6 separate regions of the Homo sapiens genome follow, and all the other regions are linked to region 2. The links are contacts of gene promoters, found by promoter capture Hi-C in blood cells and fetal thymus (Javierre and others, 2016). All regions are on one chromosome and are shown on one strand. Each heading gives the region's core, a stretch centred on a gene start or on the middle of the fragment in contact. The rest is flanking DNA. Distances are from core to core; before and after follow the strand shown. Region 1 holds the start of S1PR2 (sphingosine-1-phosphate receptor 2). Region 2 holds the start of OLFM2 (olfactomedin 2). Region 3 overlaps CDC37 (cell division cycle 37, HSP90 cochaperone). Region 4 holds the start of DNMT1 (DNA methyltransferase 1). Region 5 holds the start of PDE4A (phosphodiesterase 4A). Region 6 has its middle 4.2 kb from the start of MRPL4.

Region 1 (3,864 bases), core at 220-2,719, 290 kb before region 2:
TGTTGCTGTTGTTGTTGTTCACTGCTGTGCCCAGTAGGTGCATAAAAAATATTTGTTGCCAGGTGCTGTGGTTTACATTTGTAATCCCAGCACTTGGGGAGGCCGAGGCAGGCGGATCACTTGAGGTCACGAGTTCGAGACCAGCCTGGCCAACATGGTGAAACCCTGTCTTTACTAAAAATACAAAAAAATCAGCCAGGCGTGGTGGCACGCGCCTGTATTTCCAGCTACTTGTGAAGCTGAGGCACAGGAATAGCTTGAACCTGGGAGGCAGAGGTTGCAGTGAGCTGAGATGGCACCACTGCACCCCAGCCTGGGAGATAAAGGAAGACTCTGTCTCAAACAAAAAAATTTTGTTGCTGGAATGAGGGGCTTTCCTATCCTGTTGTCGAACTGCTGGTTACACACACACACACACACACACACACACACACACACACACACATCATTCGATGAAGGTGTAGTGTCCATCATTTCCGCAGGCAGGCACACAGAAATGCCCAGGAATTAGTGAAAATTGGAAATCTGGATAGAAGACTGGGCCCGACGCTGGAAGGCAGGCACAAACTGGGCCCCGCCAGAGGGGACAGTGATCTACAGAGGCAGGAAAGAGTGTGGAGTGTCCCCAGTCCCCCAAGGGAAACAGGGCAGCACCTGAATTCTGGAGGTCCTATCAAGGGAGAGACTGGTCAGGCACAGTGGCTCACGCCTGTCATTCCAGCACTTTGGGAGGCTGAGGCAGTAGGATTGCTTGAATGCAGCAGTTCAAGACCAGCCTGGGCAACACAGCGAGACCCCATCTCTACAAAAAACTGCAAAAAATTAGCCAGGCATGATGGCGCACCTGTAGTCCCAGCTACTCTGGAGGCTGAGGCAGGAGGCTGAGGCTCCCGTGAGCTATGATTGAGCCACCACACTCTGGCCTGGATGACAGAGCAAGACCATGTCTCAAAAAAAGAAAAAAAAAAAGAGATCAATTTTGTCTTTGGGACAGGACATCGCACTTAGTAGGAATTTATTTGTTGGGTGGACACACAGTAGGCACTTAATGCCTATTTGCTGCGTTGACACCTAGTAGGTACTTCCAAGGCTCTTTGTTGAGTCAATAAATGTGACCTCGTGTTTTCTTCCAAGTCCAGGGTCCCAGGGGTAAGCCCAGAGGTAACCTGGGGTTGAAGACAGTTGTTTCAGGTTGAGGCCACCTGGCCAGGAGTACTGTGACGTCACCAGGCTGCGTGACGTTTCGCGCCGGCCGGTTCTCACGGGTGGGGGCTGGGAGGGGCAGAGTGAGAGATCGGGTGGGGGGGGCGGACAAAGGGCCCTCCGTGCAGCTCCTGTCGGCCCCCGCGTGCGCCCCGGCCAGCCGGCCGGTCACATCTGGAATTCATTGCAGCCGCCGCCGGAAAGGGGAGGAGAGGAGGGCGGGGCGAGCGGGGGGCAGAGGCGGCGGCTCTCCGCCCCCCCCTCTGTCCCTCGTCCCAGCCCCGGGACTTAGCCGAGCCCGGCTGGCAACCCCAGCCCCAGCCGCGGCCGCCCTGGGGACGCAGACGCCAAGGCCCCTCCGGCCAGGGCCGGGAGCCGGGCCGGCCTAGCCAGGTGAGCGCGCGTGGCGACAAGGAGGCAGAAAAGGCGGGCCTGGTCCCCTGAGGTCTCGGGATCCGAGCTGAGGGGCCCCAATCGGGGGGCTGGGGCGCGCACGCGCCGCCTGGGTTCCTGCTGCACGGAGCGGGTGGTCACAGTGCGCCCTCTCCAAGAATCCGGGCGGCCCCCACTGCCTCGGCCGCGAACCCGCAGACTGTGCTCCCCGCCTTTCTCAGCGGCAGGAAGTTGGCGCCGGGGAGAAGGCTGAATCCGAGCGCTTTCGACTGGAGTCTTTGGGAGGCAGGACGCCGTGCTCGGGGACCGGGGTCTTGGGGAGTGTGTTTGGGGGGGGGCAACACCCCTCCTGGCTGACTCCGGCTGAGCGAGGGCAAAAGGATGTGCGCGCCGTGGAGCCTCCAAGCCAAGGGGCGGCACCCACGGGGAGGGCGGTCGGACGTCGGGCTTTCTGCCTCGGTTTCCCCAAGTTGTTTGCCTCCTCCGGTCCCCCGGCGGGGGGCGTGGCTTTGTTTTGTAAGGAAAGAGAAAGTGACTGCGTGGCTCAGACGCCTCCTCTTTCAACTCCGGCTCAGGGATGGGTCGTGGGTGAAGGCGCGCGTGGCGCGGACCTCGCGTGGCCCCGAGCCGGGCGGAGCGTCGGAACTCGCCCCCTTCTCAGGCACGGGTTGACTCACCCGGGGATTTCCACCCCCTCCTCTGTCTCTGTCCTTGTCAGATGCTCCGGGCCCCACGCGCTGAGCCCACAGTCCCCCTCGTGGGGCGACACGGCCAGGCGCGGAACTCGCGGTGCAGCTGCTGCTGCGATCTGGTCCCCCACCCCCAGTCTTCCCAGAATCTCGAGGCGGGACCCCTGGCGGGACGGAGAGGAATCCTTCCAGTGCCGCTTGGAGACGTGGGGGCCCCGCGCGTGTGGCGGTCTCGGGGGCGGGGGGGAGAGGAGGCGTGGCTCCCGCGCGAGCGAGCGTGGATACCGCGCATTCCTAAACCAGATAAGGAGGCCGAGAGTGCGGGCCAGCACGGGGTCGGGTCCTGCTGCCATCTCCATGGAGACACGCTGGGCTTTGCCTGGTTGATGGTGGGCGATGGGGGCGCTGCCCGCGGACCAGAGGTGTCTCCAGGCTCCTTTGTTGCTGTTTGGGTCTGGGCTGAGCTTAGGAGTTTCCACCCTTGGGAACCCACTAGGGTCTCCTTTGTTCATTGGTTCATTCATTCATTCATTCATTTGCCCATTCCACACGTTTTCTGAGTGTTTTATTTGTGCCAGGCATCCCTGTAGGGGCTGATAACTGACTTGCTCCCTGGCCTTAGGCATTGACTGTCTAGGTGGAAGCCAGACAGAAAAGGAAAGATATCATGATAGTTTCCCATAGTGGCAAGCGCTGTGCAGATAATAAAACGAGATTCTGTGATTAGAAAAGGCTTGGAGATGGCTGCTATTGTAGACTGGGGGTCAGGGGAGTCCCCTCTGAGGAAGTGACCTTTAAATAGAAAGGTCACTTTCTATAAGGTAGGGTGGCTACCACGGGCTCCATGGGTGACCAGGGGGAACTGTAACCACAGGGCCTGCCTTTCTGAAAGATGGGGAGACAGTCATTCAAAGATTTGAGGAAAGGCCAGGCGTGGTGGCTCACGCCTGTAATCCCAGCACTTTCCTAGGCTTAGGCAGGTGAATCACCTGAAGTCAGGAGTTCCAGACCAGCCTGGCCAACATGGTGAAACCCCATCTCTACTAAAAATACAAAAATTAGCCAGGTGTGGTGGTAGGCACCTATAATCCCAGCTACTCAGGAGGCTGAGGCAGGAGAATCGCTTGAACTCAGGAGGCAGAGGTTGTGGTGAGCCGAGATCACACCACTGCACTCTAGCCTGGGCAACAGAGTGAGACTCTGTCTCAAAAAAAAAAAATTTTTTTTTTGAGAAAAAGAGTGTGCCCCAAGAAGAACAGCAGGGGTAAAGGCTTGGAGGTAGGGGTAGGGGTAGCATGGAGGAGGTTTAGTGTGGTTGGAGTGGAATGGCCCTGGGGGAAGAGTGGGAGGAGGCTTCATCGGCAGGGGCCATCCTACTTGGGCTATAGGGAGCCATGGAAGAATTTGGAGTTGGGGAGTGACATGGAGTTACAAGTTTAAAAGCTCCCCCTGGCTGCTTGGTAGAGAATGGCAGGGTAGGGGGTCCTGACAACCACAGAGAAACCAAAAGGTAGGGTGGCTACCACGGGCTCCATGGGTGACCAGGGGGAACTGTAACCACAGGGCCTGCCTTTCTGGA
Region 2 (3,960 bases), core at 26-2,525:
ATGCCAGGCTTCCTGGCCTCGCATATTTTATGCCCGATTTCTTTCCAATCTGACTTATTTGCCCGCCCCCCTCCTCCACCTCTGCCTACATATATCCGAATCCCTAGAGGGGCTGTGGGGAGGAAAGACGACTAGGGACACTTTTTTTTTTTTTTTTTTTTTGAGACAAGGTTTGCTCCTGTTGCCCAGGCTGGAGTGCAATGGCACGATCTCTGCTCACTGCAACCTCTGCCTCCCGGGTTCAAGCGATTCTCCTGTCTCAGCCTCCCGAGTAGCTGGGATTCCAGGCATGCACCACCACGCCCGGCTAATTTTTGTATGTTTTAGTAGAGGTGGGGTTTTGCCATGTTGGCCAGGCTGGTCTTGAACTCCTGACCTCAGATGATCCACCCTCCTCAGCCTCCCAAATTGCTGGAATTACAGGCGTGAGCCACCGCGCCCGGCCTAGGGAGACTTTTGGAGGAGTGAGAGGCAGAGAAAGGCTGGAAAGCCTCCCGAAAGTGAGGCTAGACAAGGACGCCCTTCATATGCAAATGGCTTCGCGTGGAGGCGGTGTTAATATTTTGATTCTCTCGGGGGATGTGGTCTTTCATCTTGGGCTATTGAAACAGGGAGCGAAGAGAAACTCTTCCAGGTGTGGCGGAGGCGGGGAGGCTTCCAGCGGGAGGACTGGTGGGGAAATGGGGCGCCCGGGGAGAGTGAAAACGAGACGCCCCTTTTTGAGGCCAAGCCCACCCACGTGGCCATTTCCATTGGCCTCTTGCCTGATTCTCGGTCTCCTGTCCCCCCAACCTCAATTTTTTCCTCTTATTCCCCGTCTCCATCTATGCCTCACCCCTCTTGTCCTGGCATTGACCCCTCCTCCAACTTCCAATTTCAGATTCTGCCTCAGTTTCCCTGTTGACTCTTGAGTTTTTAGGGAGGGGGCGTTCATCATTTCCCCTCTCTGCTACCAGGCCTTCCTCCTATTCCTCTCCCCCAACCATTCGTCCCCGTCCCACCTGCAACGTGGGAAATGCCCCCGGAGGGTGAAATTTACAAACACGTGACGGGCACCCCTCCCCCACCTCCGCGACCCGCTCCCGGAATGGCCTGGGGGTTGGGGGGCGCTGCCAAGTCCTGTCCTCAGGTCCCCTCGCCGGCGCTGGCTCCCCCACTTCCCCGCCCCCACCCCCCCACCCGACCCTGCTCGAGCTGCTCCCGAAGAGGAGCTGGGGGCGGGGCGGGGGGCGGAGCCCGCAACAAAGACTCGGAGCGAGCGAGGGGGCGGGGGTGGGGCGGAATCCCGGCCGCCGGCGAGGCGGGGGAGGCGGCGGCGCAGGGTCGCCCCGGCCGGGCGGGCGGGGTCGCGCCTGGTGGCGGTCCCCGCGCCGAGGCGCCGCTAGGGCGGGCGGGGGTCGGGACGCCGGGCTAGGGGCGCGTCATGTGGCCGCTCACGGTCCCGCCGCCGCTGCTGCTGCTGCTGTGCTCAGGCCTGGCCGGACAGGTAGGGGCCCGGCGGGCAGGTGCGGGCGCGGGTGGCTCCGGGAGAGGAGGGGGGCGCGGAGGGTTCCCGGAGAAACGGGGTTGGGAGGCTCCACAAGCCCCCCCAGCTGCAGGGCGGCGAGGGGCGGGGGTCGCAGCGGGGGAGGGGCCGGGACGTGCACTCTCTGGCTTGGGAGAGGACGAGGGGGGCTTCAAATCCAGCCTCAAGCTGGGCTGGTTTGGGGGGTGGCGTCTTTGGGGTTCTCAACCCCTCCATGGCCCCGAGCCCCCACCCCGCCATCTCGCTGGAGCTGAATGGGGTTGGGAGGGAAACTTCAGGGGGCATTGGAGGGGGGCGGTTGCTTACCCTTGACTTCCTCTTCGGGGCCGAGATGCCCAGTTTCTGAAGCCCTCCACTCCTCGCCTGCAGCCCCCAGTGTGGGGCAGGGGACGGGACTCACGTGAGAGTGACTGACGGGGACGCGTGTGAAATGCTGTGGGGGTGCAGGGTAAACGTGTGTGTCTTTGTGTCGTGGTTGGGTGTGACCGGGGGGAGTTTGTGTGTGTGGCGGTTGGGGGGCTTGTCCAACTAGTGCCCGAGTTGGGGTGTGATCAGTACGTGAGACAGAGTCTGTGTGTGACCGTGTCCTCATTACTGGCTCCAGATGACTGGGTGTTGTACAATACGTGTGTGGCCAGGTGTGTGGCCGTGTGAGAGCCTTGGAGTGAGCGTGTGCTATTCTGTACCTTTGGGTAAATCACTCTAAAAGGGTGTGTGTGTGTGCAAGCGCTGTGTGTGCAAACGTGTCCATCCATGCACGTGTGTGTGTGTATCTTGGTGCCTTGCTCACAACCGCACACGCCATTCATACCCTTACAGAAGCGGGTCTCCCTCCCCATGGCACCTTTCTCTTGGGCAGGCTCAGGGAGGCTTGCAAAATGTGGGGCGTCCACGCTCTCTTTTGCTATTGGAAAGCCCCTCTCCTCCTCCATCTTGGGAGTGAGAGCACCCCCAAGTTCTCAGATCTGTAGGAGTTCACAGGGAAGCTGGGATCAAAAATAATAAAATAGTCATTATGATAACAGTGATCATTCATTACGTGCTAATTTGAGAGGTGCTGTTTCAATCACACAGCACAGACTAAGGCATTTAACCCCCTCTGCCTCCTCCCTACTAGAGCATGGTATTGTTACCTCATTTTATGGATGGGGAAACTGAGGCGCAGAAAAGTTAAATCACTTGCTCAAGCTCGAGAGTGACAGAGGTGGGACTGAACCGAGGCAGTCCGGCTCCTGAGCCCACACGATTACCCTCTTGTTAAATAATCCGCTCCATGGGTGTGGACAGCGTCCGTGAAGACATTGCTAGGTGGGCTTTTAGGTAGATAGGCAGGGGAGAAACAATTTGGGCACCTTCCCCTTATCAAGAAAAGAATCAGACCCTTGTGCTCACCCCGAGGGGGGTGTTGGGAGGAATGGAGGTTAGACTCCAGATAGAAGGATTTCCAGGCCACGAGGAGAGATTGTGGGGTCCCCTCCCTCGCTCCTCCATTTCCCCACGCATCTCAGCACCCACGCGCTGGGTGGGATAGGGAGTGTGCCCAGCCCCAGGCATGAGGACACACACAATAGGTACTCAATGGATGTGTGAGCCTGAGAGAAGCCAAGAGACACACCTGGGAGACGAGAGACCAAAAGAGGCACACACTTGAGAAACCAGTGGAAAAAAAATGAGCCAGGAATCAAGTTGAATTATCCTTGACCTAGCAGAGGAGACAGAGAACCACCCCCTGTGGCTTCTCCTCCACTCCCTGCTAGGGGGGCACTAGATTTTCTGGCTTCTCACCAAGATTGGCTAGGATGCCAGAGTTTGCTGCCAGAATTGCAATTGGAGGGTGACTCCTACAGCCCCCAGGGCTGGGAGGGAGTTGCTTTGGGGGCGGGACTAACGAGGTCAGTGGAGGCGGGGCTAAAGGACAACGGGGGCGTGGCCAAATGAGGTAATCCGTTAGGGCGGGGCTGGTGGAATCCTGCCGCGGGCTGCAGTGCCTCCAGGCGGCCACCGCGGGAACTACATGGTTGTGAAACAGTCTCGGCGCCCCATACACCCCCTTGGCGTTGGCCCACCAAGCCTGGCACCCCAGGGAAGGGAGGGGTCTGCAGAGAGGATGCTCTACCCACTCTTCGCTCCCTCCATCACTTTCCAAAGACTTCTTCCCTGTCCCTGATGGGCCCAGGGGTCCTTCCTAGAAATCATTGGTTAATCCATTCAATGAACAGATATGATTATGCACTGGGGATACAGCCACCAACTGAGTCATCAAATCCCTGCTCTCCTGGAGTTGACCTAGCAGAGGAGACAGAAAAGAGCCGAATAACCATGTAATACGGTGTCGGCAACTAAATATACATATAATACAATGCAAGTAGCATGAAGAATAACAGATAAAGTATAGAAGATTAGACTGGAGCCGGGTGCTGTGGCTCACGCCTGTA
Region 3 (4,100 bases), core at 539-3,038, 460 kb before region 2:
ACATGGCTCGGGACATTTTACTCTAATCATCTCCTTAGTTTCTTCCAATATGAGCTTGTGCAGTCAGCATTGTTGACTGTTTGACAGATGAGGAAACTGAGGTTACAGGAGGTTAGGGGATGGCCCGGGATACCCAGCCGGTACATGGTGGCTGTGGGCTAGGACCCAGGGGCCGTTGCCCCAAGGCTGTCCTCCAGCACCCTCACCACATCGTCAGATGGTCACAGGAGGTCCTTTAGGGATCAGTGGTGCCTCAGGCAGGGAGCATTTGGGGAAGGCTCTGTTGAAGCTGAGTTTTGGGTGCAAAAGCAGGTAAGGGAACCGCACATGCAGAGGCCAAGAGGCAAGACAGAGCCCGTACTTTCGGGGAACGATGAGGGCCAGTATCTGCCTGGGACCCAGGACCAGGATGCCAGGATCAGAAGTCCCATCTGAATTCAGACCCCCCAAGATGTAGTGGGGAGGACTCTGGTCACGTGGTCAAATGCATGGGCTTCACAGGCCTCCCTGGTGGCAGCTGTGCCTGGATTGGAGAGGGTCAGCAATTGAAGGTGGTGGCACGTTTCAGGGTTTCAGGGTTTGATTAGTGGCTCTGGATAGAGCAGCCTCCACTGAGGTTCAGGAGAGGTGATGGTGGAGCCACGCAGGGGTCTCAGGAGAGGCCTGTACAATCCGATGGGGCCCAGATGGAGGTCTGAGGGAGACAGGGAGTGAGGCGGGGACCAGGAGCCTGAGGAGATGAGGCACTGTTATAAGGAGAAAGAGGAGTGCCTGGGGAGTGACATCTGGGGCTGGGGTGAGCGGGAAGCAGGTAGACACCAAGCTGGGGCTCAGGAGGGCATGCTGGGCTGGAGACAGAGCTAAGAGGGCCTTGGCAGTGATCCTGGGGCAAGGTTATGGGTGGAACAAAGAAACATCTAGAAGGGGCCCTGGTGCAGTGGCTCATGCCTGTAATCCCAGCACTTTGGGAGGCCAAGGTGGGTGGATCACTTGAGGTCAGGAGTTCAAGACCAGCCAACATGGAGAAACCCCGTCTCTATTAAAAATACAAAATTACCCAGGCGTGGTGGCGCGTGCCTGTAATCCCAGCTACTAAGGAGGCTGAGGCAGGAAAATTGCTTGAACACGGGAGGCAGAGGTTGCAGTGAGCCAAGATCACGCCACTGCACTCCAGCCTGGGCGACTCCGTCTCAAAAAAAAAAAAAAAAAAAAAAAGCCAGGCTTGGTGGTTTGTGTGCACCTGTAGTCCCAGCTACTTGGGGTTGAGGCAGGTTGAGCCTGGGAGATCAAGGCTGCAGTGAGCCATTATCACACCACTGCACTCTAGTCTGCATGACAACAAGACCTTGTTCAAACAAAACTGAACAAAATAAAAACAAAAAAAAAAACAAGCATTTGCTGAGCCCGTGCTTTGCACCAGGCCACGTTCCTGGTTCTGGGAACAAAATGGCGAACACGTTCCCATATTTAGAGAGCAGGGCTTCATTCATTGGAGGGGGGCAGTACCCAAAACGTGATAAATAATTGTCATATGATGTTAGTGGTTGCTGATGTTGAGGAGGCAGGGAATTCCAGACAGGGGCAGCGGGAAGTTGCCATCATCAGGAAGGTGGTTGGGGAAGGGGTCCTCGCTAAGGCAACATGGAGCCCAGATGGCACGGGTGCCATGGAGTCAGCTGTGGGGGGCTCTGAAGGAAAAGCATTCCAAGTAGTTGGAACAGCCAGTGCGAAGGCCTTGAGGTTCAAGAAAAAAGTGGGCTCCGCAGAGTGCAGTAGCTCCCGCCTGTAGTCCCAGCACTTTGGGAGGCCGAGAGGGAAGGATCGCTTGAACCCAGGACTTCAAGACCAGCCTGGGCAACATGGCAAACCCCATCTTTACTGAAAATACAAAAATTAGCTGGGCGTGCTGGTGCACACCTGTAGTCCCAGCTACTTGGGAGACTGAGGTGGGAGGATCGCCTGAGCCCAGGGAGGTCGAGGCTGCAGTATGTCATCATTGGGCCACTGCACTCTGACCTGGACGACAGAGTGAGACCCTGTTTTTTGTTTTGTTTTGTTTTGTTTTCTTAAACAAAAAAAATGGCCTCAAGAAAAGGTGAGAAAAGTGAGGGGCTGGTGTAGCTGGAAGGAAGAGTTACCAGGGGAGGTGCCGAGGCAGATTGTGTAGGGCCCATGTAGGCTGTGGTGACAACTTGGGTTCTGCTGTGAGATGGGAGCCGCCAGGGTTCTGAGCAGAGGACGGAGGGACCTGACCCCACTTGGGTGTGCGCTGGCACCTGTGGGCGCAGGGGCGGAAGCTGGGAGACCAGGGCACGGGAGGTGGACGCGTACTTTTTCCTGGGGCCATCTCCGGTGCAGGGATTGGGTATGGGGCGGGGGTAAGGGACAGACGACTCCCCAGAGTTGATAGGCCGTCCCTGCCCGCAGGCCCGGGTGGAACGCATGGAGCAGTTCCAGAAGGAGAAGGAGGAACTGGACAGGGGCTGCCGCGAGTGCAAGCGCAAGGTGGCCGAGTGCCAGAGGAAACTGAAGGAGCTGGAGGTGGCCGAGGGCGGCAAGGCAGAGCTGGAGCGCCTGCAGGCCGAGGCACAGCAGCTGCGCAAGGAGGAGCGGAGCTGGGAGCAGAAGCTGGAGGAGATGCGCAAGAAGGAGAAGAGCATGCCCTGGAACGTGGACACGCTCAGCAAAGACGGCTTCAGCAAGGTGTGCGGGGCGGGCGGGGCGGGCAGTGCGCATGCGCAGCCAGAGAGCCTGCAACCAGGACGCATGCGCACCCAATGCCTGGTCAGGGGAGGACCCCGGTGGTGTAGTTGAAGAGTGTGGTGGGGGGCGGGGAGCTGAGGGATGGACGGGGGCCACGTGGGAGGGGGGACAGGCTTGGGGGGCCGGGCGGATGAAACACCCCACCGGTCCCCTCCTCTGATCTGCCCCAAGGCCCATGCCCACGCTCCCGCCACCTTGATGCTCATGGCTTCGTCACCACCTCCGCCGTGGATGGGATGGGCGCTGCGACCACGGCCCGCCCGGCCGCGCTCGAGGCGCTCCGCAGCCTTGCCCCAGCCCACTCCCCCTCTCACCCTACCACAGAGCATGGTAAATACCAAGCCCGAGAAGACGGAGGAGGACTCAGAGGAGGTGAGGGAGCAGAAACACAAGACCTTCGTGGAAAAATACGAGAAACAGATCAAGCACTTTGGTGAGTGGGGCTTGTGGGTTATGGGGGGCAAGGTCGAGGCAGGCCCTTTGCCTCCAGGGCCCTCCAGCACCTTGCCAGCATCTTCCCACAGGCATGCTTCGCCGCTGGGATGACAGCCAAAAGTACCTGTCAGACAACGTCCACCTGGTGTGCGAGGAGACAGCCAATTACCTGGTCATTTGGTGCATTGACCTAGAGGTGGAGGAGGTGAGTGGAGCTTTCCCCGGGACTGTGAAAAGGCGCTGCCATGAGGCCGCCACTTGGTGACGCTGTGCCTGTTCTTCCTGGCAGAAATGTGCACTCATGGAGCAGGTGGCCCACCAGACAATCGTCATGCAATTTATCCTGGAGCTGGCCAAGAGCCTAAAGGTGGACCCCCGGGCCTGCTTCCGGCAGTTCTTCACTAAGATTAAGGTAGGGTCCCTGAGCTGCCAGGTGGCTGGAGGCCCCCTCCCCAGGGAACCAGCCCACAATGCTCTAGGTAAGGCCGACTCCTCTCCACTGGGACTCAAGCCCCTCCAGTCACCGCATCCTAGATCAGGAGAGGGTGGGGCCAGGGAGGAGGAGAGAAGTGGGCAGATTCTGCCAGACTTTAAAAGTGGAGGCCGGGCGCAGTGGCTCACGCCTGTAATCCCAGCACTTTGGGAGGCTGAGGTGGGCAGATCACCTGAGGTTGGAAGTTTGAGACCAGCCTAACATGGAGAAACCTCATCTCTACTGAAAATACAAAATTAGCCGGGCATGGTGGTGTGTGCCTGTAATCCCAGCTACTCGGGGGGCTGAGGCAGGAGAATCGCTTGAACCTGGGAGGCAGAGGTTGCTGTGAGCCGAGATCGTGCCATTGCACTTCAGCCTAGGCAACAAGAGCGAAATTCCATCTCAAAAATAAATAAATAAATAAATT
Region 4 (3,842 bases), core at 752-3,251, 260 kb before region 2:
AGAGACGAGGTTTTGCCATGTTGCTCAGGCTGGTCTAAAACTACCGGGCTCAAGTGATCTGCCTACCCGGGCCTCCCAAAGTGCAGGGATCACAAGCATGAACCACCATGCCTGGCTGTAATTTTTCATATATTCCGGATATTAACCCTTTACCAGATAATACAGTTTGCAAACTTTTTTTTTCCCCATTCTGTAGGTTGCCTTTTCACTGTTGGTCATTTCTTTTGCTGTATAGCTATCCTTAAGTTTGTTGCAAACCCATTTGTCTATCTTTTGTCTTGTTGCCTGTGTTTTGCTGTCATATCCAAGAAATCATTGCCAAATCCATTGTCATGAAGCTTTTCCCCATGTTTTCTTCTAGGAGCACTATAGTTTCAGGTCTTATGTTTAATCTTTAATAAGTTTTGTGTTTTTGTATATGGTGTAAGGTAAGGGTCCAACTTCATTCTTTTGTATGTGGTTATACAGTTTTCTCAGCACCATTTGTTAAAGACACAATCTTTCCCCCATGTTCTGGTGCTTTAAAAAAAAAAAAAATTCTGGCTGGTTACGGTGGCTTAGGCCTATAATCCCAGCACTTTGGGAGGCTGAGGCAAGTGGACTGCTTGAGGCTAGGAGTCCCAGACTAGCCTGGCCAACATGGTGAAACCCTGTCTCTACCACCGAAGATACAAAAATTAGCCAGGCGTGGTGGAGTACGCCTGTAATCCCAGCCTACTAGGGAGGCTGAGGCATGAGAATCGCTTGAACCTGGGAGGCAGAGGTTGCAGTGAGCCAAGATCTCACCACTGCACGCCAGCCGGGGTGACAGAGTGAGGCAGGGTCTTACCCTGTCGCCCAGGCAGGAGTCCAGTGGCCCAATCATGGCTCATTGCAGCCTACACTGCCAGGGTTCAAGCCATCCTCCCACCTCAGCCTCCCAAGTAGCTAGGATTACAGGTGTGTGTCACCATGCCCAGCAAATCTTTGTATTTTTTGTAGAGATGGGGTATCCCTATGTTGCTCAGGCTGGTCTTGAACTCCTAACCTCAAGCGATCCTCCCACCTGGGCCTCTCAAAGCACTGGGATTACAGGCGTGAGCCACTGCGCCTGACATGGTGCTTCTTAATTTATTCTTACTTTTTATTTTTATTTTTTTGAGACAAGGTCTTGCTCTGTCTCCCAGGCTGGAATGTAGTGGTACAATCATGGCTCACTGCAACCTCTGCCTCTCCGGTTCAAGTGATCTTCCTGCCTCAACCTCTGGAGTAGTTTGGACTATGGGCACATGCCACAACGACTAGCTAATTTTTGTTTTTCTTTTTTTCTTTCTTTCTTTCTTTCTTTTTTTTTTTTTTTGAGATGCAGTTTCTCTATGTTACCTAGGCTGGTCTAAAACTCCTGGGCTCAAGCGATCCTCCCACCCTGGCCTCCCAAAGTGCTGGGATGACAGGCGTGAGCCACGTGGTGCTTAAAAAAGGCAACAAAAAACCCCCCACACACTGGGTATAGAAGTGGCATGGGCCTCTATACACTGTGAGATTCTTGGTACTAGCTACAAATTCTGTGTATACTCAAGATTTTCTAGAGTAGGTGCAATTACCCCGTTTTACAGATGAGGACACAGAGGCTGAGCCGTAGTGACCCACCTAAGGTCGTATAGCCAGCAAATAGATGGAGGTTGGATTGGAACTGAGGACTTTACTCAAGGGCTCTCACAAACCCTTGGGGGCTTCTCGCTGCTTTATCCCCATCACACCTGAAAGAATGAATGAATGAATGCCTCGGGCACCGTGCCCACCTCCCAGCAAACCGTGGAGCTTGGACGAGCCCACTGCTCCGCGTGGGGGGGGTGTGTGCCCGCCTTGCGCATGCGTGTTCCCTGGGCATGGCCGGCTCCGTTCCATCCTTCTGCACAGGGTATCGCCTCTCTCCGTTTGGTACATCCCCTCCTCCCCCACGCCCGGACTGGGGTGGTAGACGCCGCCTCCGCTCATCGCCCCTCCCCATCGGTTTCCGCGCGAAAAGCCGGGGCGCCTGCGCTGCCGCCGCCGCGTCTGCTGAAGCCTCCGAGATGCCGGCGCGTACCGCCCCAGCCCGGGTGCCCACACTGGCCGTCCCGGCCATCTCGCTGCCCGACGATGTCCGCAGGCGGTAGGTACCATGGGGGGGAACACGGACTCAGGGGGACAGGCAGGGCGCTGGGTGGGGGGTCGCTTCCCCTCGGGGTGGCCGGTGGCCGCTGCTGACAGACGGGCGCGCATGCGTGGGGTGGTGCGGCGCGCAGCGGCAGTTGGCGCGGGCAGGGTGGCACTTCCGGTCGCGCGTGCCCGGGCTGTTTGGCGCCAAAATGGACCGTGGATTCCCCCGTAGCTCCCTGGTGGCTAGAAACTAGGCGGGGTGGGGGTTCTCTTTTGATCCCCAAATACAGCAAGCTTTGGGTTCGTTTCCGGGGTCCCCTTCTTCAAGCAGCGGTGGGCCGGGCTCTTGACTCCAGCTTGGTCGCACAGGAAGTGGGCAGCCCGCGGCCAACGGACACCCCTCGGGCACCGGCACTTCGGCCTCCACTTCCGGTGTCCGGCCCGGTCCCCGGGGGCGCTTCTGTGGTGGGGGGTCCCTCAGTGCCTTTCCCCCAAAGCTGTGCATCTCGATGGCGGCCTCCAGAGACGGATGTCACCCGTCGGGGCCTGGGCTGGGCTGGCTCATGTTCGAGAGCCCAGCCTTCCGTGGGGTACTCATTCTGTCAGTTGGGACTGTGTGGTTCTTGCTCCTTGGGAAAGTCCATGTTTTGGCAGGAACTTTAACCGTGCATTGCAGCGCAGGGCCCGGGAAGCGTGAAGGCTGCATGGTTGGTCTTTTCCTGTAAATCTGTGCCTGTGAGCCGTGGGCATCAGGGAAGTCTTGCTAATGAGAACTGGCTACACTTTCGTGTGTGTTTGTGTGTGTTCATGGGTGTGTTCTTTAGTGTGTGTCTAATGTTGGAGGCCCTGGCTTTAGCAGTTCATGCCTCTGTCCAACTTCCGTGCACAAGGATCAGTGGGAGCACTGGTCCCAGCCCCTTGTTCATGAACGCCATCAGTTCATTCCTGAAAACTTGTTCAAGTGAGGTGTGCGTGAGTCAGAGGAACCCTCACCAGGCGTGGACACTTCCAGCTGGATTTGTGAAAGCACTCTTTGCCATTTTTCTATTTCCTTAGGCTTGTTAACTGACCTGGTTGGGCCAGTCCGGTTCTGATTTGGGTCTTTGGGGAGGGATGGATATTTGGTTCAACCCCCGCTTTTTTTCTTTTCTTTTTTTTTTTTTTTTTGAAGGCTGGGTGCTGTGGCTTATGCCTGTAATCCCAGCAATTTGGGAGGCAGTGGCGGACGAATCTCTTGAGCCAGGAGTTTGAGACCAGCCTGGGCAACAAGGCAAAACCCCATGTCTACTAAAAATACAAAAATTAGCCTGGAGTAGTGCCGTGCGCCTGTGGTCCCAACTACTCAACAGACTAAGGTGGGAGTATCACTTGAGCCCCAGAGGTTGAGGCTGTGTGTAGCGAGCTGAGATCGCGCTATTGCACTCCAGCCTGGGTGACAGAGTGAGACCCTGTCTCAAAAAAAGAAACACTTTTTATTTTTAGAGATGGGTCTCACTCTGTTGTCCAGGCTGGAGTGCCCTGGCACAATTATAACTCACTGTAGCCTTGAACTCCTGGGCTTAAGGGATCCTCAGCCTCCTGAGTAGCTGGGACCACAGGCGCCCACCACCATGCCCAGATGACTTTCTTAGTTTTTGTTTCTGTATACGTGAGGTTTCACCATATTGCCCAGGCTGGTCTTAAACCCCTGCCCTCAAGCAGTCCTCCTGCCTTTGTGTCCC
Region 5 (4,070 bases), core at 1,123-3,622, 480 kb before region 2:
GGGCCTGGAACCTACTTCACTTCACCCACCCCTTGGTGTCTTAGGACAGTGACCTGTGCCAGTTTGGCCCCCTGCCCCAGTTTTAGCATTTTCTGTTGATTCCAACTTTCTCTTCCTTCAGCCTCTCTCCAGTTCCCTTTGGGAAATGTCAGCCCATGTATGCTGGGCCCGTGACACTTGCTTCCTGGTGGGTAGAAGGGTGCAGGGGGACTGGGGCTGGGGGGTGATCAGAACAGAGGTGGGGGTGGCCTGGAGGGCTGCAATGACTGCTGAAGACCCCCAAAGAGACTTAGGAAGAGTAGGGCTACATCTTAGAGAGGCCTCACTCAGGAGCTCCAGGGATAAGGAGCCCAAATCTGACCGTCTTGGTGATATCCCCAGCAGTGGGGCATCCAGGTAGAGCACACGGGCAAAGCTGTCAGTTGCACACATCGCTGGAGCACAAGCAATCAGACCCTGGAGCACCATCAGAGGAGGAACAATAACTAAGAACACCAGGTGGTTAGAGGACACCAGTTCTTAGGATACACCAGGCAGAGGGAACACAGACCACATGTCAGAGCACCGACGCTCAGACGTGAGCACCTGGTGAAGACTAACACACAGCCACTGTGTTTCAATCACAGTGTCCAAGGAGCACAGACTGTTCCACGAACTCAATCACATTGTTCCCCAAGTGTAAACACCCCAGTGCCACAATCACTGCATGCCAGAAATGACACTGTCACAATCACATTGTCCCTAGACCACCAACACCATTGCACAATCACTGTCCTAGGAGCAGAAACAGTCACTCTATCCCAATCACTGCATCCCATGAGGCCACAGTCACCCTGTGACAGTCACAGCATTCTTGGAGCACACACAGTCACTGTCGCAAACCCTGTCCCAGAAACACACAGTCACACTACCCTGGAAATACACAGTCACACTGTCACAATTACACTGTCCCTGGAGGACACAGAGTCATCGTGTCACCATCACAAGACCCCAGAAGCTCACACAGAGCACACAACTGAGGTAGCCACAGCTGGTCATACCCGGACAGCTGGAGCAAACGGAGGTCAATCGGAGAATACCCTCAGAGGAGACCAAGCTCAACACACATGCACCCTCACTATGCTGTCACCTCTGCAGTCAGGGACTCCTTCCCTCTGTGCTGGGACTGCGCCCCCCCTCCACTGTTTCCTGCCTCTGAACAGCTACTTAACGCTAACACTCTTGCCCTGAGAGGGGAACTCCAATCTAACGCAAGGCTCCCAAAACAGTGCTCCCCCAAGAGGCACCCTCTGGATTTCTGACCCCAGCTGCTGCAGGAGGAGTCCACTAACATCCCCGCAATAGAGTCCTCCATCCCCTAGAAGGACCCTGAGAGCACCCCACCCTGAAGTAAAGATCCTGGTCCTAGCAGGCACCCCCTTATGGAGTGCTCCAAGAGTACCCCAAACACTGCGAATCTAGCCCTCAGTATAGTGCCCCCAGGAAGGTCCCTCCAAGTGGTTCCCAGCTTAGCAGCTGTTCTGCACTGTCACCAAGAATACAGACCCCTAAGTGTGCAGCCCCCTTCCCCAACCCAGACCTCGTTAACACCACGCGCAGCGTGGCGCCCCCTAAATGGACCCCAGGATGGGCTTCAGCAGGAAGCCTCCCGTAGAGCGCACAACCAGGGGCCAGGTCCCAGACGCCCCCGCAGCCGAATTCCCTCCGCCCCCGCCAGCCAAACCGACCCCACCCGCATCCTAGCGCCCCCTGCGGCCGGCAGCTCGAGTTGCCTCCTCCCTGCGCGCCCATCCGTTCCGCGCGCATCCGCCGCGGGGAGTCTTACCGCCTGCTGCTGCCTCCGCCCGCGCCGCCGCTGCCGGTGCCAGTGCCATGGAAGGACGAGGGCCAGGACATGCGGGTCGTGCGCAGGCCGGGCCGGTCGCTGGTGTCCATGGCATCGGCGCGCTCTATGGGCCGGTGCGGCTGCCGCTCCCGCTCGGCGCGCTCCGCGCTGTCGGAGTAGCCGCGCTGCTGGATACGGATGGGGGTCCGAGGCTGCCGCCACAGGTGCTGCGGGGGAGGCTTCAGGGTGGCCTGGCCCTCCCGGGGCCCGGGCAGTGACAGAGACAGGCTCCTTTCCGAGGGGACGGTCGGGGGTTCCATGGCGCCGGCCCCCACTTGCGCCCCAGGGGGCCCTGGCCCTTCCAACCTACACCCCGCTCAGCTGCGCGCAAGCCAGCGAGCCCAGGGCCCCGCGGGTGCGCCCGGCCGCGGTAGGGCCATGGCGCCCCGGGGACAGACCCGGGGGCGCTGCGGGCCAATCGCCCCCGGGCCGGGCTCTGCAGCTTCCTTTCGGCGCCTGGAGCTCTGCTCAGTGCCCGGCGGCGCTCTCCGCGCTCCGCGCTCCGCGTTCCGCGGCCCGCTCGGCGCCAGCCCCGGCTCCTCCGCCCCGTCCCGCCCCTCCCCGCCCCCCGCCCGCCGCGGCTGTCAGCGCCGCCCCCCTCCTCCTCCGTCCGGGCCAGCGGGGGGCAGCTACCTAAGGAGGGGGGCCCTTCCCGCCCACGCAGATCCCCGCTCCGGGCTGGGAGGGGGCGCTGGAACTCGTCTGTCTTCAAAGCACCCTGCTTGGCCGCGGCGCGCACAGGCACGAAGGAGTTAAACGGTTAATCCGATCTGGAAGCAGACACCGGACTGGTTGCCAGAGTGTCAGTCAGTCGGTCCATCATGGCGAGGGCGGAGTCCGGTGTTGGCGTGTCCTCGCCGCTACCCCTGGCGGGGGGCAGTTTTTGAGGAGTGGTCCTAGTGCCACCGGCGCGGTACCTGCAGCGGGCGGCGGCAGAGTGTGTGGGATCTCCTGTCTGTGCGTCGGAGGATAGTGATGGTGCGGGCCCGGGGCGGGATGTGCGCGCACGTGGCCTCTTCCGAGGGTTGTCTGTGTTTTCAGTGTCGGCTGGAAGTGTGTGTGCGCACGTGGTTGGCTGCTGTTGTCTGCCCGTTTCTCTGGATTTGGCTGTGTGTATAACTGTGTGTGTCTGTGGGTGAAGGATGTGTGCGCACATGTGCTACCTATTTGGAGGATGTGCATCCCTACGTGGTCTTTTTTCAGGTGGCCTGGGGACTGTGAATGTGTTCTCAAGCGCTTGGATGCGTTTGTGGTCGGTGTGTGCTTGCGGAGTTGTGCACGCGATTCGGCCTCTGTCGTCTGACTGTAGTGTCGGAGGACGTCTATGTATGTTAGTGTGTGCGTGTGCGTGAGTGTATGTGTGTGGTCGGCCTGGGGCCTCTGGGGTGTTTCTGGGGTGTGTCCCATTGGTTCCCTTGTGGCTCCAGGAAGACACCCTGTGGCGGATACCGCAGCTGCCGGCCCACCGCTCTATACATCGCTGCCTCTTCTAAAGCGCTTCTGCCAGAGGTAAACTGAGGAAGGTCCCAGGTAGCCGCGGAGCGCACCCCCGTGCCCTTTTCAGGCGAGTAAACAGGCGAGCCTCCTCCCTGCGGCCCCCGCCAGCAGAGCCCCCCTTCCGGCACCTAAATCGGGAGTCGCCGTGACTCACGCTCCCGCCTCCCCCAGCGCCGCGCCGAGCGAGCAAGCAGAGAGCGAGCGGGATCCGAGTGCGCCCCCATCCCCCTCAACCCCCCCAAGGATGGCTGCTGGGCGGGGGGAGTGCACGCGCCCGCGTGTCCCACCGCCCCCCCCCCCCACGCCGATAAGAGCTCGAACGCGAAACTGCTCTGCTGCGGGACCCGGGGACCAGACCCCTGCCCCCGTGCGCCCCCTGTCACGGGCTCCCCAGGGCACGCGATGCCGTTTGCCACCGCCCTCCCCCCGCGCCCTTCTCCTTATTTGAAAAAAAAAAAAAAAAAAAAAAAAGACTGCCGGTCTTCAACCCCCACAGCCACTTTTCTCCCCGCCAGAGGGGGCTCCCGGCGTGGGCGAACGCCGAGCAAAAACCGGCCCCCCCATCAGCAGCCGCCGGGTATTCCAAGGGCCAAAACTGTGTTCCCCACTTCTCTCAGGAACACCCCCCCCATTACACACTCAAAACGGCTTCTAGGGAATTTGCAGGGGCTGTGAGTTCTCCCCAGAT
Region 6 (4,255 bases), core at 1,464-3,963, 310 kb before region 2:
TGTGAACCAACCTCATTTTCCTCTGCTGGAAAAGGAGGTTATGAGATTCAGTGACGTAATGGAGGCAAAGCTTCCCATGCCTGGTACAAGGTGTAAAGTCAATAAATAGCATTATTATTATTTTTTTTTTGAGACAGAATCTCACTCTGTTGCCCAGGCTGGAGTGCAGTAGCGCGATCTTGGCTCACTGCAACCTCTGCCTCCTGGGTTCAAGCGATTCTCCTGCCTCAGCCTCCCGAGTAGCTGGGATTACAGGCGCCCGCCACTACGCCCAGCTAATTTTTATTTTTATTTTTTATTTTTAGTAGAGACAGGGTTTCACCATTTTGGCCAGGCTGGTCTCGAACTCCCGACCTCAGGTGATCCACCCGACTCGGCCTCCCAAAGTGCTGGGATTACAGGCGTGAGCCACCGCGCCTGGCCTCTACCAAAAATTTAAAAATTAGCTAGGTGTGATGGTATATGCCTGTGGTCCCAGCTAATGGGGAGGCTAAGGCAGAAGGATCACCTGAACCCAAGAGATTGAGGCTGCAGTGAGCCATGTTCATGCCACTGTACTCCAGCCTGGGTGACAGACTAAGATCCTGTCTCAAAAAAAAAAAAAAAAAAATGTGGCCGGGTGCGGTGGCTCACGCCTGTAATCCCAGCACTTTGGGAGGCCAAGGTGGGCGAATCACGAGTCAGGAGTTCGAGACCAGCCTGGCCAACATGGTGAAACCTTATCTCTACTAAAAATACAAAAAAATTAGCTGGGCGTAGTGGCGGGCACCTGTAATCCCAGCTACTCGGGAGGCTGACGCAGGAGAATCGCTTCAACCCAGGAGGCAGAGGTTGCAGTGAGCCGAGATCCCGCACCGCACTCCAGCCCATGCGACGAGTGAGACTCTGTCTCAAAAAAAAAAAAAAAAAAGAAAGAAAGAAAACAAAAAGTATAGTGTATTTCATTGTGTATTTTATCCCTGCAAGAATAACTGAATGCGGCCGGGCGTGGTGGCTCATGCCTATAATCCTAGCACTTTGGGAGTCCGAGGCGGGTGGATCACCTGAGGTCAGGGGTTCGAAACCATCCTGGCCAATATGCCAAAACCCCATCTTTACTAAAAATACAAAATTAGCCGAGCATGGTGGCGCATGCCTGTAATTCCAGCTACTTGGAAGGCTGAGGCAGAATTCCTTTAACTTGGGAGGCGGAGGTTGCAGTGAGCTGATACCGCACCATTGCACTCCAGCCTGGGCAACAAGAGTGAAACTCCGTTTCTAAATAAATAAATAAATAACTGTGGATGCATGTTTAAGACTCTATGTATTTTGCAACTTTAAAAGGTCTTTTAATCGTTTATTTTGTTGCTGTTGTTTTTGAGACAGGATCTCACCCTGTTACCAGTCTGTAGTGCAGTGTAACGATTATAGTTCACTGTAGTCTTGAATTCCTGGCCTCAGATGATCCTCTGCTGCAGCCACCTAAGTAGCTGAGGCCACAGGCATGTTCCACCATGCCCAGCAATTTTTTTTTTTTTTTTTTTTTTTTGTAGAGGCAGAGGTCTTGCTTTGTTGTCCAGGCTGGTCTTGAACTCCTGTTCTCAAGTGATGCTCCCTACCTGACTAATGTTTGTATTTTTCGTAGAGACAAGGTTTCACCATGTTGGTCAGGCTGGCCTCGGACTCCTGACCTCATGTGATCCACCCGCCTCAGCCTCCCAAAGTGCTGGGATTATAGGCGTGAGCCACTGCGCCTGGCCTATTGTATATTTTCATTGGTCATTCATACACCTGGTAGAGAGAATTTCAAAAATTACAAAGATTACTAGAGTGAAAATTCTGTCTACTCTTATCTGTGCCCCCTACCCCCCAGTTCTTCTCCCAGAAGCCACCACTACAATCAGCCTCCTGTGTGTCTACTCCAAAATCCGGTGTATGATTTTACAGGCAGATTTGCAAGTCTGTTCTGCACCAGAGAGTTTAGATTTTATGTGGCAAATGATGGAACAGTATTTCGTTTCTTTCTTTTTTCTTGTTTCATAGAGACAGGGTCTCGCCGTGTTGCCCAGGCAGATCTCAAACTTCTGGGCTCAAGCGATCTGCCCGCCTTGGCCTCCCAAAGTGCTGCGATTATGGGTGTGAGTCACCTCGCCTGGCTTTTTTTTTTTTTTTTTTTTTTTTGAGACGGAGTCTCGCTCTGTCGCCCAGGCTGGAGTGCAGTGGCGTGATCTTGGCTCACTGCAAGCTCCGCCTCCCAGGTTCACGCCATTCTCCCACCTCAGCCTCCTGAGTAGCTGGGACTACAGGTGCCCGCCACCACGCCTGGCTAATTTTTGTATTTTTAGTAGAGACGGTTTCACCATGTTAGCCAGGATGGTCTCAAACTCCTGACCTTGTGATTCCACCCCTCATCCCCCACAACAGATCTGTATCATCCATCCATGCCCTGTGCCTTTTGTTTTTTTTTTTTTTTTTTGAGACACAGTCTCATTCTGTCACCCAGGCTAGAATGCAGTGGTGCGATCCCGGCTCACTGTAACCTCCTCCACCTCCTGGGTTCAAGTAATTCTCCTGCCTCAACCTCCTGAGTAGCTGGGATTACAGGCAGACACCACCACGCCCAGCTAATTTTTGTATTTTTAGTAGAGATGGGGTTTTGCCATATTGGCCAGGCTGGTCTCGAACTCCTGACCTCAAATGATCCGCCTGCCTCAGCCTCCCAAAGTGCTGGGATTACAGGCGTGAGCCACCACACTAGGCCGCCTGGCTTAGTTTCTTAGTGATTTATTAGGCACCTACTGTGCACCACTGGTACACCAGTAAATCCAGCAAACACTTTTGAAATATTCACAGTCCAATGCAGAGGCCTGAAGGATCAGAGTTCAGGAGGGGAGTCTACAGGGTCTGTGGGCGTCCACAGGAGGAATTCCCAACCACGGGGGCAGGGTCTTGGGGTGGTCTTATGAAGCTGTAGCCTGAGAGCTAAGGCTTGAGGACTTTGTCCAGAGGAGAAAGTCTGTTTCAGGTTGAGAGAACAGCAGTCGCAGAGGCCAGGAGTGAGGAAAGACTGACAGGGGGCAGAGGTGGCTGAACCTTTCGGACTACCCACTGCATGCTTCCTTTGTTTTTGTTGTTGTTGTTTGAGACAGGGTCTCACTCTGTCACCCAGGCTGGAGTGCAGTGGTGTGATTTCAGCTCACTGAAACCTCTGTGCTGGTGTGCGACTGTAGTCCCAGCTTCTCAGGAGGCTAAGATGGGAGGATCACTTGAACCCGGGAGGCGGAGGTTGCAGTGAGCTGAGATTGCGCCACTGCACTCCAGCCCAGGTGACAGATCGAGACTTTGTCTCAAAAAAATAAAAAAGCAAATCTTCACCTCTGACCTTTCTGACCCTCTTCTCTTGCCCTATATTAATATTTATCTTCTTTTTTTTGAGACAGTGTTCCACTCTGCCACCCAGGCTGGAGTGCAATGTCGAGATCTTGGTTCACTGCAACCTCTGTCTCTGGGGCTCAAGTGATCCTCCCACCTTGGTCTTTTGAGTAGCTGGGACTACACGTGTGTGCTACCACACCTGGCTATTTAAAAATATATATATATTTGTAGACACGAGGTCTCACCACATTGCCCAGGCTAGTCTTAGACTCCTCGGCTCCAGCAGTTCTCCTGCCTTAGCCTCCCAAAGTGCTGGGATTACAGATGTTAGCCACCACATCTGGCCTAATGGTTATCTTCTTCTTCTTCTTTTTTTTTTTTTTTTGAGACAGAGTTTTGCTCTTGTTGCCCAGGCTAGAGTGCAATGGCACAGTCTCAGCTTACTGCAACCTCCATCTCCCAGGTTCAAGCGATTCTCCTGCCTTAGCCTCCCAAGTAGCTGGGATTACAGGCGCCTGCCACCACACTCGGCTAATTTTTTTGTATTTTGAATAGAGATGGGGTTTCACCATGTTGGCCAGGCTGGTCTCAAACTCCTGACCTTGTGATCTGCCCACCTCGGCCTCCCAAAGTGCTGGGATTACAGGCGTGAGCCACTGCACCTGGCTAAAAATGCTTTTTGTCTGCCTCTCCCATTAGAATGTAAACTCACCCAAGGCTGGAATTTTCCTCTATCCTATTACCTGCTGTAGCTTCAGCACTCAGCATAGTGTCTGGACCACAGTACATGCTCAATAAATGTTTCTTTAGTTCTTTTGTTTTTCTTTTTAGAGACAGAGTCTCACTCTGTCACTTAGGCTGGAGTGCAGTGGCATGATCATAGTTCACTGCAGCCTGCAAC

Evidence for each region. Contacts are between HindIII fragments. The CHiCAGO score rates a contact against its expected background, and 5 or more counts as called.
Region 1: the fragment with the promoter of S1PR2 here is called in contact with the fragment with the promoter of OLFM2 in region 2 in 5 of 17 cell types (naive B cells, naive CD8 T cells, total CD8 T cells and 2 more); the score reaches 8.1 in naive B cells.
Region 3: a fragment that was not itself captured here is called in contact with the fragment with the promoter of OLFM2 in region 2 in 7 of 17 cell types (non-activated CD4 T cells, naive CD8 T cells, naive CD4 T cells and 4 more); the score reaches 9.8 in non-activated CD4 T cells.
Region 4: the fragment with the promoter of DNMT1 here is called in contact with the fragment with the promoter of OLFM2 in region 2 in 7 of 17 cell types (total B cells, naive CD8 T cells, total CD8 T cells and 4 more); the score reaches 8.6 in total B cells.
Region 5: the fragment with the promoter of PDE4A here is called in contact with the fragment with the promoter of OLFM2 in region 2 in 3 of 17 cell types (naive CD4 T cells, total CD4 T cells and naive CD8 T cells); the score reaches 7.0 in naive CD4 T cells.
Region 6: a contact is called between a fragment that was not itself captured here and the fragment with the promoter of OLFM2 in region 2, in 8 of 17 cell types (total B cells, naive CD8 T cells, naive CD4 T cells and 5 more). The highest score is 9.5, in total B cells.

Annotation. Positions count from the first base shown.
Region 1 is chr19:10,228,936-10,232,799 of GRCh38, reverse strand. S1PR2 (sphingosine-1-phosphate receptor 2) reads left to right here and starts at 1,469. Exons shown (of 2, transcript NM_004230.4): 1 at 1,469-1,596. It overlaps MIR4322 (microRNA 4322), which reads right to left and starts at 2,387; the gene lies at 2,315-2,387. RefSeq lists enhancers at 915-964, 2,111-2,825, 2,765-2,844, 2,925-2,974 and silencers at 1,165-1,824, 2,535-2,584. The HindIII fragment of the contact is 29,719 bases long and covers 1-3,864 here.
Region 2 is chr19:9,933,830-9,937,789 of GRCh38, reverse strand. OLFM2 (olfactomedin 2) reads left to right here and starts at 1,275. Exons shown (of 6, transcript NM_058164.4): 1 at 1,275-1,486. The coding sequence starts at 1,424. RefSeq lists enhancers at 256-758, 1,425-2,019. The HindIII fragment of the contact is 5,720 bases long and covers 1-3,960 here.
Region 3 is chr19:10,394,531-10,398,630 of GRCh38, reverse strand. CDC37 (cell division cycle 37, HSP90 cochaperone) reads left to right here. Exons shown (of 8, transcript NM_007065.4): 2 at 2,428-2,703; 3 at 3,088-3,196; 4 at 3,288-3,403; 5 at 3,488-3,610. Among named protein-coding and RNA genes, the nearest start is that of MIR1181, 7.0 kb to the left of the region's middle. The HindIII fragment of the contact is 8,904 bases long and covers 1-4,100 here.
Region 4 is chr19:10,193,112-10,196,953 of GRCh38, reverse strand. DNMT1 (DNA methyltransferase 1) reads left to right here and starts at 2,001. Exons shown (of 41, transcript NM_001130823.3): 1 at 2,001-2,134. The coding sequence starts at 2,055. RefSeq lists an enhancer at 1,568-1,797 and a silencer at 2,058-2,297. The HindIII fragment of the contact is 2,077 bases long and covers 341-2,417 here.
Region 5 is chr19:10,418,840-10,422,909 of GRCh38, reverse strand. PDE4A (phosphodiesterase 4A) reads right to left here and starts at 2,372. Exons shown (of 15, transcript NM_001111307.2): 1 at 1,826-2,372. The coding sequence starts at 2,145. RefSeq lists enhancers at 1,330-1,519, 2,700-3,579 and silencers at 1,730-1,779, 2,010-2,479. The HindIII fragment of the contact is 23,098 bases long and covers 1-4,070 here.
Region 6 is chr19:10,245,937-10,250,191 of GRCh38, reverse strand. No RefSeq gene overlaps it. Among named protein-coding and RNA genes, the nearest start is that of MRPL4, 4.2 kb to the left of the region's middle. RefSeq lists a silencer at 1-42. The HindIII fragment of the contact is 5,281 bases long and covers 73-4,255 here.